3 separate regions of the Homo sapiens genome follow, and regions 1 and 3 are each linked to region 2. Evidence: promoter capture Hi-C in 16 types of primary human blood cells and fetal thymus (Javierre and others, 2016). All regions are on one chromosome and are shown on one strand. The core of a region is centred on a gene start or on the middle of the fragment in contact, and the rest is flanking DNA. Distances in the headings are between cores, read along the strand shown.

Region 1 (2,700 bases), core at 99-2,598, 1.2 Mb before region 2:
GACGGGAAGGTAAATGCTGTATTTTCAAGGCGGGAAGAGTGCTTTGTCCCTAAAGCACTCCTTAAGTTTTACGGAGTTTCTGTTAATCCCAGGCACTTCTGGAGTTTTTTGAGGAGCAGAGAAAGCTTGTAAGTCGAGGGACTGCTGTCACCGTACTTGGAAAAGCCATTCTTTCCTCCCAGGGAATTTCTTCAAAGATGTGTGACAATTGATGACTGAAAAGATGCTTCTTCAGTCTAGGCGATTTGCTGTTTGTTATATTAAAATAGAAATTAAGTTTCCTGTTTTGCTTATTTCTGCAAAGCACCAACACTATTTTCATTTTTATGGATGCCTTATGGATTCCAGAAGCACTGAAATTGTAGAGTTGTTGCTCACATAAAATAATACATAAACAAGGGGAAGAGAAAACACTCGCCTGGCTGAGGGATTTTTATTGGAAGAATGATAGAAGTTTTTGAGAACAAAAACAATTGACTTATTACCTTTCATTCTGAATCCTTTTAATACCCGTCTCCTGTTTTTAATAAAATCCTCCCCTTTCTACTTACTGTGTTGGGTACGGAGAAGTGCCTGTAAGAGATAAATCCACTCACCTCATTTTAAATTTAAATTTGTAGATACTGAAGCTTGTATTCATTTCCATCTCTTTCTGGGGCTGCCTAGTTATATTTGTAGACTGTGTATTTTCTTTCCTCTTTCTTCTTGGTCTTGCCCATCTTTAAACCATGTTATTCATCATCAAAAGTTTCTGAAATGGCTAATAAGGAAAAGGTGAACACTTTCATTCAAGTTTAAAAACACACCAGTATCTCTGGCTTTTTTTAATTTTTTAATTGGATGGTGTAAACGAAATCAAGCAATAGAATGTGATTCTTACAATCATTTGTAAATTTAAGTTAACTCTGCTTCTATTTCTTTTGGGAATTTCTGGCTATCTTTTGATTAAGCTAACCCTCAGTATGTTTTCTCACCTTCAATCATTAGCTCTAGTGAAGAGCTAATGAATTTCCCTGTTAGGGAACAAATCGGTTGGCCTGGTATTGAAAGTAGTAGTAATAAACTTCTGTCAAGTTTTTTAACTCCTAGTGAGGAAAATGGATGTGGAGAGTTTAAGAGTGTGAACATTTTAAGAAACTTTAGCTTAAGAAACTATTGGGTTAGTATATTTTGAGATTTGTTTAGACTGCCAAATTTAGAGACATTTTAATTATTCTTTAGCAAAACGATTAAAAGGCATTAAAATAGGACATTAAGGCTTAAAGGGTTTTTTAAAGGGTGATGATGATGAATGAGATTGGGGAAGAGGAGTGGTACCTGGTGCTGATTGGCAAAGGGTATGTTTTTTCTTTGAAGCCTCTGCTTTTGTGCCAAGTTGGAATTAATGGCACTTAATGGATTTCTAACTTTTGCTGCAATCTGGTGTGGTATTTCTTTTCCCAACAACCTCATTCCCTTTAACAGAAATGGCTACCAACAAGTCCTAGGGTTAGATAAAACGTTTGCAAGAGTTGATGAGTGCCTTTTAGTAGCCACTTTTGTCTCTTTTGTTATTCACAAATTGTCTCAAAATTTTGTGATCCGTTTCTGTTTTGTACATTGAGTGCTGTATGTCTGTTCTACAGTATTCTAGTTTCTGAGGTTTCCCCTCTCATGCTACCAATATTACTGTGTTATGTTTACTATCATAATTTTGTAGATCTTGATTATGTCTCCCCTCTGCTTTTGTCTTGTAGCCTTGAGTACTAACCTTAGATTATGTTTACAGAAAAACCATTTCATCTATGTCATTATTAATTTTTGTTGCTGTTTTTTCCTTTTGCATAGTTTATAATTTTTGATCAAGTAGTATAGAGTATTCTAGGCATAAATGCACTATAGCTGCAGCACAGAGCAATGATAGCTAATATTTGCTGACAGCTGTGTGTCAGACACATGATGTTTACTTGACAATAACACCTTTAATCTTTATAAGAACCCTATAAGATAGGTATTATTATTAACTTCCTTTTGCATTTTACATGTGAGGAAGTAGAGAGGTTAACTTGGCTAAGTTTAAGCAGCTGTTAAGCTTCGGAGCTTAAATTTGAACCTAGGCAGCACAGGCTCCTGAGTACTTTATAGGTCAGAGGCCTGTATTTTATATATGTGGCTCCATCATTTACTAGATATGTGTTCTTTGACTTGTTATGTAACTTCTTTGAACCTTAGTTGTTATATCCTCAGAATGGGGAAATTGATCCATTCATACTTCACAGGGTTGTTAGGAGGATGAAATAATACAAATGACAGATCTTTGTAACACAGTAACAGCGTATTATGTAAATATTTCATCATAACATTATTCAACCACATTTTGTTCTCATACCTACTGTGCCAGATGTTTTTATGAGCACCGAAAATCCAAGATAGAGGGTCACCAGCTTGTCTTGGTTTTAACACTGGAAGTCGCATAACCTAGGAATTCCCTGCATTAGTTTCTTATGCCTGCTGTAGCAAATTGACACAAATTTAGTGGCTTGAACAACACACATTTATTACCTTACAATTCTGTGGATGAGAAGTCCAAGATATGTCTCACAGGGCTAAATAAAGTTAAGATGTCAACTGGGCTCGTTCTTTTTGGAGGCTCTGAGGGGAGAATCTTTTTCTAGAGGCCACCTGTATTCTGTGGCCCCTTCCTCACATCAGCACTCCAAC
Region 2 (2,700 bases), core at 52-2,551:
GTGGCTCCACCCAGAAACAACTCAGTAGGCAGGAGGACCATCTCCCATACCCCTATGACTGCACCAGTCAGCAGCAAGCACCCATTGCCTAGCCACCCCTACCCCTTTCCCCAGACTACCTTTGAAAAGAAACCTAGCCCCCAAATGCTCCAGGAGGCCGATTTGAGTAATAATATAACTGATTTGAGTAATAATAAAACTTCTTCCATTTTTCCACTCGATGTTGTGTAAAACTCTTTCTCCATTGCAATCCCTATACCTTGATAAATCATCTGTATCTGGGCAGCAGGCAAGAAGAATCCACTGGGCCACTATATCTGGATCTAAAGGCCATGTATTTTCCACTACAAGCTAATTAACAAGAGGTATCCTTTCCCCTCAGAAACAACTGGACACACCTGTGTAGATTCTACATAAAGAACAGCTAAAGAAAATCTGGTTAATACTTAGCCTAGTATACTTACCAGGAAATCAGCAACAGTCTTTCTCTGATATTCCTGAAATTGTAATCCCCACCTTACACTTGTATCACTTGTTTTCTAAATATTAATATACGGTAAAAATCAGGTGGCTGTGTGCTATGGGAAAATCTGGAGGAAAAGATAATTTTAAAAATATACTTTTTTGGCTCTGCTTGCTACTGAAAAAAAATTTTTTTAAGAAAATATACTCTTCCCTCCTTAACATTAAAGTGAATCCACAGAAGATGTGTTTGGTGAAGTGTCTGGTGGTGAATACTAAGTAGAAAGGGCAGACTAACACAGCCTTAGAGCCTGGATAAAATCCTGGTGTCCTGAAAGTTTGACCGTGGGAAATCTGGAGGATAAGGTCTATCTCTGGTCTGTCTATCTAACTTCTGCACCTTGCACATAGTAGAGGCCTGACAGATACATGCCAACCCATGTGTGCATGCAATAATTCAATCCACAATTAGGAACATTGTGCCAAAAGGAGACCCACCAACTAAAAAGAAATACAAATTCTTAGCTTTCTGTGACTACCCTTTACTGCCTTTGCTGGCGAAAACAAAGAAGAAAAGAGGAGGCTTCAGTATTCAAATACTGCCAGTTCCGCAGTGAATTCTAAAAATGGTTACTCTTGGGATACAAGGAACCCCCACGAGGATAAACAACCTCTGAGGTTACCTGAATGCCCCAGCAAAGGGCACGACTACTTCCGGAGCCGCACCGGAACCCCTTGGCGGATTATGTGGGTTCCTGCGGGAACGATTTAAGAATAGGACTACTTCCTGCTTCTGGATATGGGCCGGTGAAGGGAAAGGAAATAGCTCTACGAGCGGCATCCTGCCTGCGTTAGCGGCGGTGGAGGAGGAGGCAGAGAGGAGTGGAGGGCGGAGTAGACGGAGGAGGCTGCTGCAGAGAAGAAAGTGTCAGAGCCGGTAAGTGAGCCAGTCACCTTAGAGCAGGGGACAGCGGACAGCGCCCCAGGGCTCGCTTCGCAGATATGTGGTCCCAAGTTGCTGAGCTGCCCCATGGGGTCAGGTCGGTCGCCTGTCAGTCGGCGCCGAGAAGAGACTGTTGGGGCGCTGGGGCCGGGCCTCGCGGAGCGCCAGAGTGCGCTCTCGCTGGCTGACAGCCTATCTCGGGAGCCAGAGGAGGCCCCGGGCTTTGTCCTGCCTGGTGGTGCTGGGGTTTCGCATCCTGGACAGCTTCCCCAGACAGTGTTTGGAATTCAGGGAAGGAAGAAAGTACGTGCGCCCCCATTTAACCCTCGGGACCTGGCGAAATCCTGCTACGTGGGTAGTGAACATTGTATCGGGGACTGAAGGAAATGCTTGTAAAGAGTGTTAGTCTGGAGCCATACTTTCCCTGCCCTGTTCAAGCTCCCTGGACTGTCGGAAGCGGAGTTGTTTGTAAAGGCAAATGCAGACGCCTCCTCCTCCTGTCACTTCGGGACAAGTTAACAATCTTCAGATTCGTTATTAAAGCCTCGTGTACCCTATGTGATCTATCAGGTTAGTACTGCTGTGGGTATCTGGTGCTTGTTCTGTAAATATACTTGATGTCGAGATCACAGTTAAATATCTCCAAGCACTTTTTGAAGAGAAACAAGACTGACCTAACAGTCGGGACTATTTAGCATACTTTCCCTCACCTTTACTTTAATCGTTTTAGCATGCAGAGTAAGGATGGTAATCTTAAATGTACTAGATTAAGTTATTGTGCATCTGCAGAAGGCCTGTGGTATAATAGGATATGAAACTCTTGATAACTGACGAAATGAGTGAAATGATTATATAAAGATTGTTACTGTAAAGATCAGAAATAGCTTTTATTAAGTTCCTGCTTTTCTGTTGTCTTAGGTTCGGCTTTAGAGTGTGGTGAAGGGTACTTTTCATGGTGCATGGAAGGAAAGCCAATGCGCAGGTAGGCATTTAGGAAGAAAACCTTTGGTTTCACTGATTAAAATTCAGCATGTAATAATTTAAATTTTTAAAAAAGAGTTTCAATCTTACTAAATTCTGCTTGGAACTAATGAGTCTTGTTCTACAATAAATCAAAAGTAATATTAAGAATTAATAGCTTTTTAATAGAATAAAATACAGAAGTTGTTTCTGAAAAGTGCTGTGGATTGTATGTAGTGCTAAACACTTAAATTTTCCTTTTTTCATGTTTTTTACAGTAAATAATCATTAAGTTCATTATGATACTATATGGATTTATTATAATCTTCAGTTCC
Region 3 (2,700 bases), core at 51-2,550, 2.0 Mb before region 2:
CAACGGGCAGACTTATATAATGCCTTTATAAGACATACAGTAAAACTACAATCTTAAGGATGAGCAAACACCATATTCAGGTCTCTTAATCCCAAGAAACCATGTGCAACAAATAGCCCATCAGCAAAGCAGTAGGCAGATTAATTAGCTACCTTGATGAACTTTGATGTTATTTGCAACTGATTATTAGTAACTGATATGTGTATCAAACAACTAGTAGAAATAAATCATGCTCAGAAAGTAGACTAGGATATAGTCTGCCTAAGATTTCTCCTACAAAAAAAGACATGTGAATTCAGCTGTTTGTGACTAGGTATACATGTAAATAAGAGAGCCATCATGTACTTCCACATTGAGGATAGACCACCACTATACAATTCACTCAAATGAGTCACATCACCGTATGCTTCTTATACATCAGCATATACTTAAATGTCTATGTGTGCGTTTTTGTAAGTAGTACGTTATCTAGTCAATAGCTTTGAATCTGGGCAAAGGCTCTCCTTTTCCCAGCCTCCATTCTCTTTCTGATTCGTCTTCCTTGTCTGTCATCAGCCTTCTTGCTTGATGCAGTTTCACAGAAATAAAGTGACTTGGATGGACACAGACCGGAGATATTATTTGCAAAACCTGTCAAGTGTAACGATTCACCCCCACCTTCCGGTCATTATAAACACAGCAGGGTTGGCGCTCTTTCCCCCGGGCCCTTTAAATACACAATTTCAGGCAGCTCCGTTCACCCCCCACACCCAATCTGTCACACCAGGCCACGTCCCACGATATATCTGCTCCTAACGCTGGCCCTTCCTGCCCCATTGTACCCCCTGGAATTCCTCACTACATCCCACTCTTAACAAACCTTCCCCATCCATGGTACTGTTCTCTTCCCATCACCCCAGAGTACCCCTCAATTCCAATTCTTCTCTCCCTCAACTGCTCCTCGTCCGCATACCCCTGTCCTCGTCTTCCTTCCTCACGGCACCCCCGGCCCCAACCTTTTCCCACTCCGGGGTCCCTTCCTAGATCCCCGAGGCCCGCCGACCAGCCCGACTAGGACGTCGGGGGGCGGCAAGGCAGGGGCGTCTTCTTCGTTTCCTTCCTCCTCACACCAGCCCCTCCCGCTGCGAACAGGCCAGCGCCAGTACCTGAGGCTCCCGGGGAACTCCCGGCAGCTCTCCCGGGCTGGCGGTGCTGGGCGGGCGGGGGAAGGAGTAGGAAGCCGAGGTAAGAAGCTGGGAGGGGGAGACAGTTGGTGCGGACCCGGCGTCGGCCGCAGCGCCGCAGCAGCGCCTCCGCTCATCGAGCCGATCGGCGCTCGGCGGCCTGGCGCCAGGCGGAGGGGGCGGGTCCAGGGCACGGAGATAATCGAGGAAGTCGATCCGCCGAGCCCTATTCACCTAAAAGAGCCCGAACCCACACGCAGTTTAGATGCATCTCTCCAAATTTATGCTGTGCTTTAGGGGAGGAACAACCACTGGTTGTCCACGTTCCGGTCGTGATCCGGCGTGCGTGGAGGGCGATTAGGGGAGGAGTGGGAAACTTCCGAGAACCGCTCGGGACTGGGCGCCGCGCCGGAGTGCGTGGCTGGGGTGATGAGGCGTTAGAAAGAAGGTGGTGCTTGGTGGCACATCCGTCCCTCTGGCTGACTACGTTGAGTGGCAAGTGGAGAGTGGCTCGCAGCTCGAGGACCTGCTTCGGGTTCGTCTGGGGCCTTTTCTGAAGAAAGGAGATCTGTTTGATCCCCTGTTTACAGAATTAGAGCTAGACTTGGAAAGAGATGTTAAGGCCAGGCTCCTCCCTTTAGATAGGAGGAATATCTGGTTCAGAGAGGAGATTGACTTAAAGTTAACACGGCTAGTTTAGATAGATACGGGACGAGGGCTCGGTGTTCTTTTCCCGGTATCCCTTAGTTGTAACCTGAAAGCCTTCAGGAAATCGCCCTCGCCAGGCCATTCCGCCACTCTGCCCATTCCTTCCTCACTCCCTCCCCCTCCGCCCAATTTGGTATCATGTTTAGATCTCCACGCCCGCAGTAGCTGTCTACCAGAAACAATTCCTAATTTTGTTTTTCCGTTCTCTTATTTGTTTTATTATCCGTTCCTCCCACGCCCCAGCTGGATTATTTTACTCATTGAATCATATTCACTACACATCTTTTAAAATTAATACAGTATCTATGGGTCCTTTGTTGATACAGTATTTTAACTGTCTGAAATACTGTGCCAGGCACTTTCTAAAGACATAAAAATAAGAGGGGGTGTTCAAGAACAAGAGTAGACAAGAAAACAGCAGGAGGAAAGATCTGCGGACACTAAAGGAAAGGAAAGAATAGACACCCTCTTACCAAAAAGTTGTTCTTCTTTTGTTTGATGTTTATTTTTATGTAAAAATGTACTAACGAATTTGAAAGATGCCATGACTAAGGCAACGATGCTCCACTCTGATTCACTTGGAGTTGAATCACTTGGAAAGCTTTTAAAACTACGTAGGTGCCCACGTGCTACCTAGATTCTGATTTAAATGTTCTGAGATTTAGAAACAGCCGTTGAGTTGTCAGTTGAAGGTTCTGAAAGCTTAATGCTAAACTCAGTTGCCTGTGTTTATTCAGTCCAAGTTGCTGTCCAAGTCAGCAACTTGGACTGAAACGGCCCACTTAGAAGAGAAGCCTCTCATGGTTTGTATCCCTGTCTAGGTGTGATA

The links. The method cuts DNA at HindIII sites, captures the fragments that hold promoters and counts their contacts. A CHiCAGO score of 5 or more calls a contact.
Region 1: a fragment that was not itself captured here is called in contact with the fragment with the promoter of KLHL20 in region 2 in 2 of 17 cell types (naive CD8 T cells and total CD4 T cells); the score reaches 5.3 in naive CD8 T cells.
Region 3: the fragment with the promoter of VAMP4 here is called in contact with the fragment with the promoter of KLHL20 in region 2 in 2 of 17 cell types (naive CD8 T cells and total CD4 T cells); the score reaches 10.2 in naive CD8 T cells.

The regions. Positions count from the first base shown.
Region 1 is chr1:172,534,141-172,536,840 of GRCh38, forward strand. The region is part of intron 1 of SUCO (SUN domain containing ossification factor); the gene reads left to right. Among named protein-coding and RNA genes, the nearest start is that of SUCO, 2.3 kb to the left of the region's middle. The HindIII fragment of the contact is 1,442 bases long and covers 628-2,069 here.
Region 2 is chr1:173,713,680-173,716,379 of GRCh38, forward strand. KLHL20 (kelch like family member 20) reads left to right here and starts at 1,302. Exons shown (of 12, transcript NM_014458.4): 1 at 1,302-1,399; 2 at 2,324-2,387. The coding sequence starts at 2,365. It also overlaps a transcript of ANKRD45 not described here. RefSeq lists enhancers at 1,206-1,395, 1,476-1,845. The HindIII fragment of the contact is 9,904 bases long and covers 1-2,700 here.
Region 3 is chr1:171,740,765-171,743,464 of GRCh38, forward strand. VAMP4 (vesicle associated membrane protein 4) reads right to left here and starts at 1,301. Exons shown (of 8, transcript NM_003762.5): 1 at 1,146-1,301. The HindIII fragment of the contact is 4,907 bases long and covers 1-2,470 here.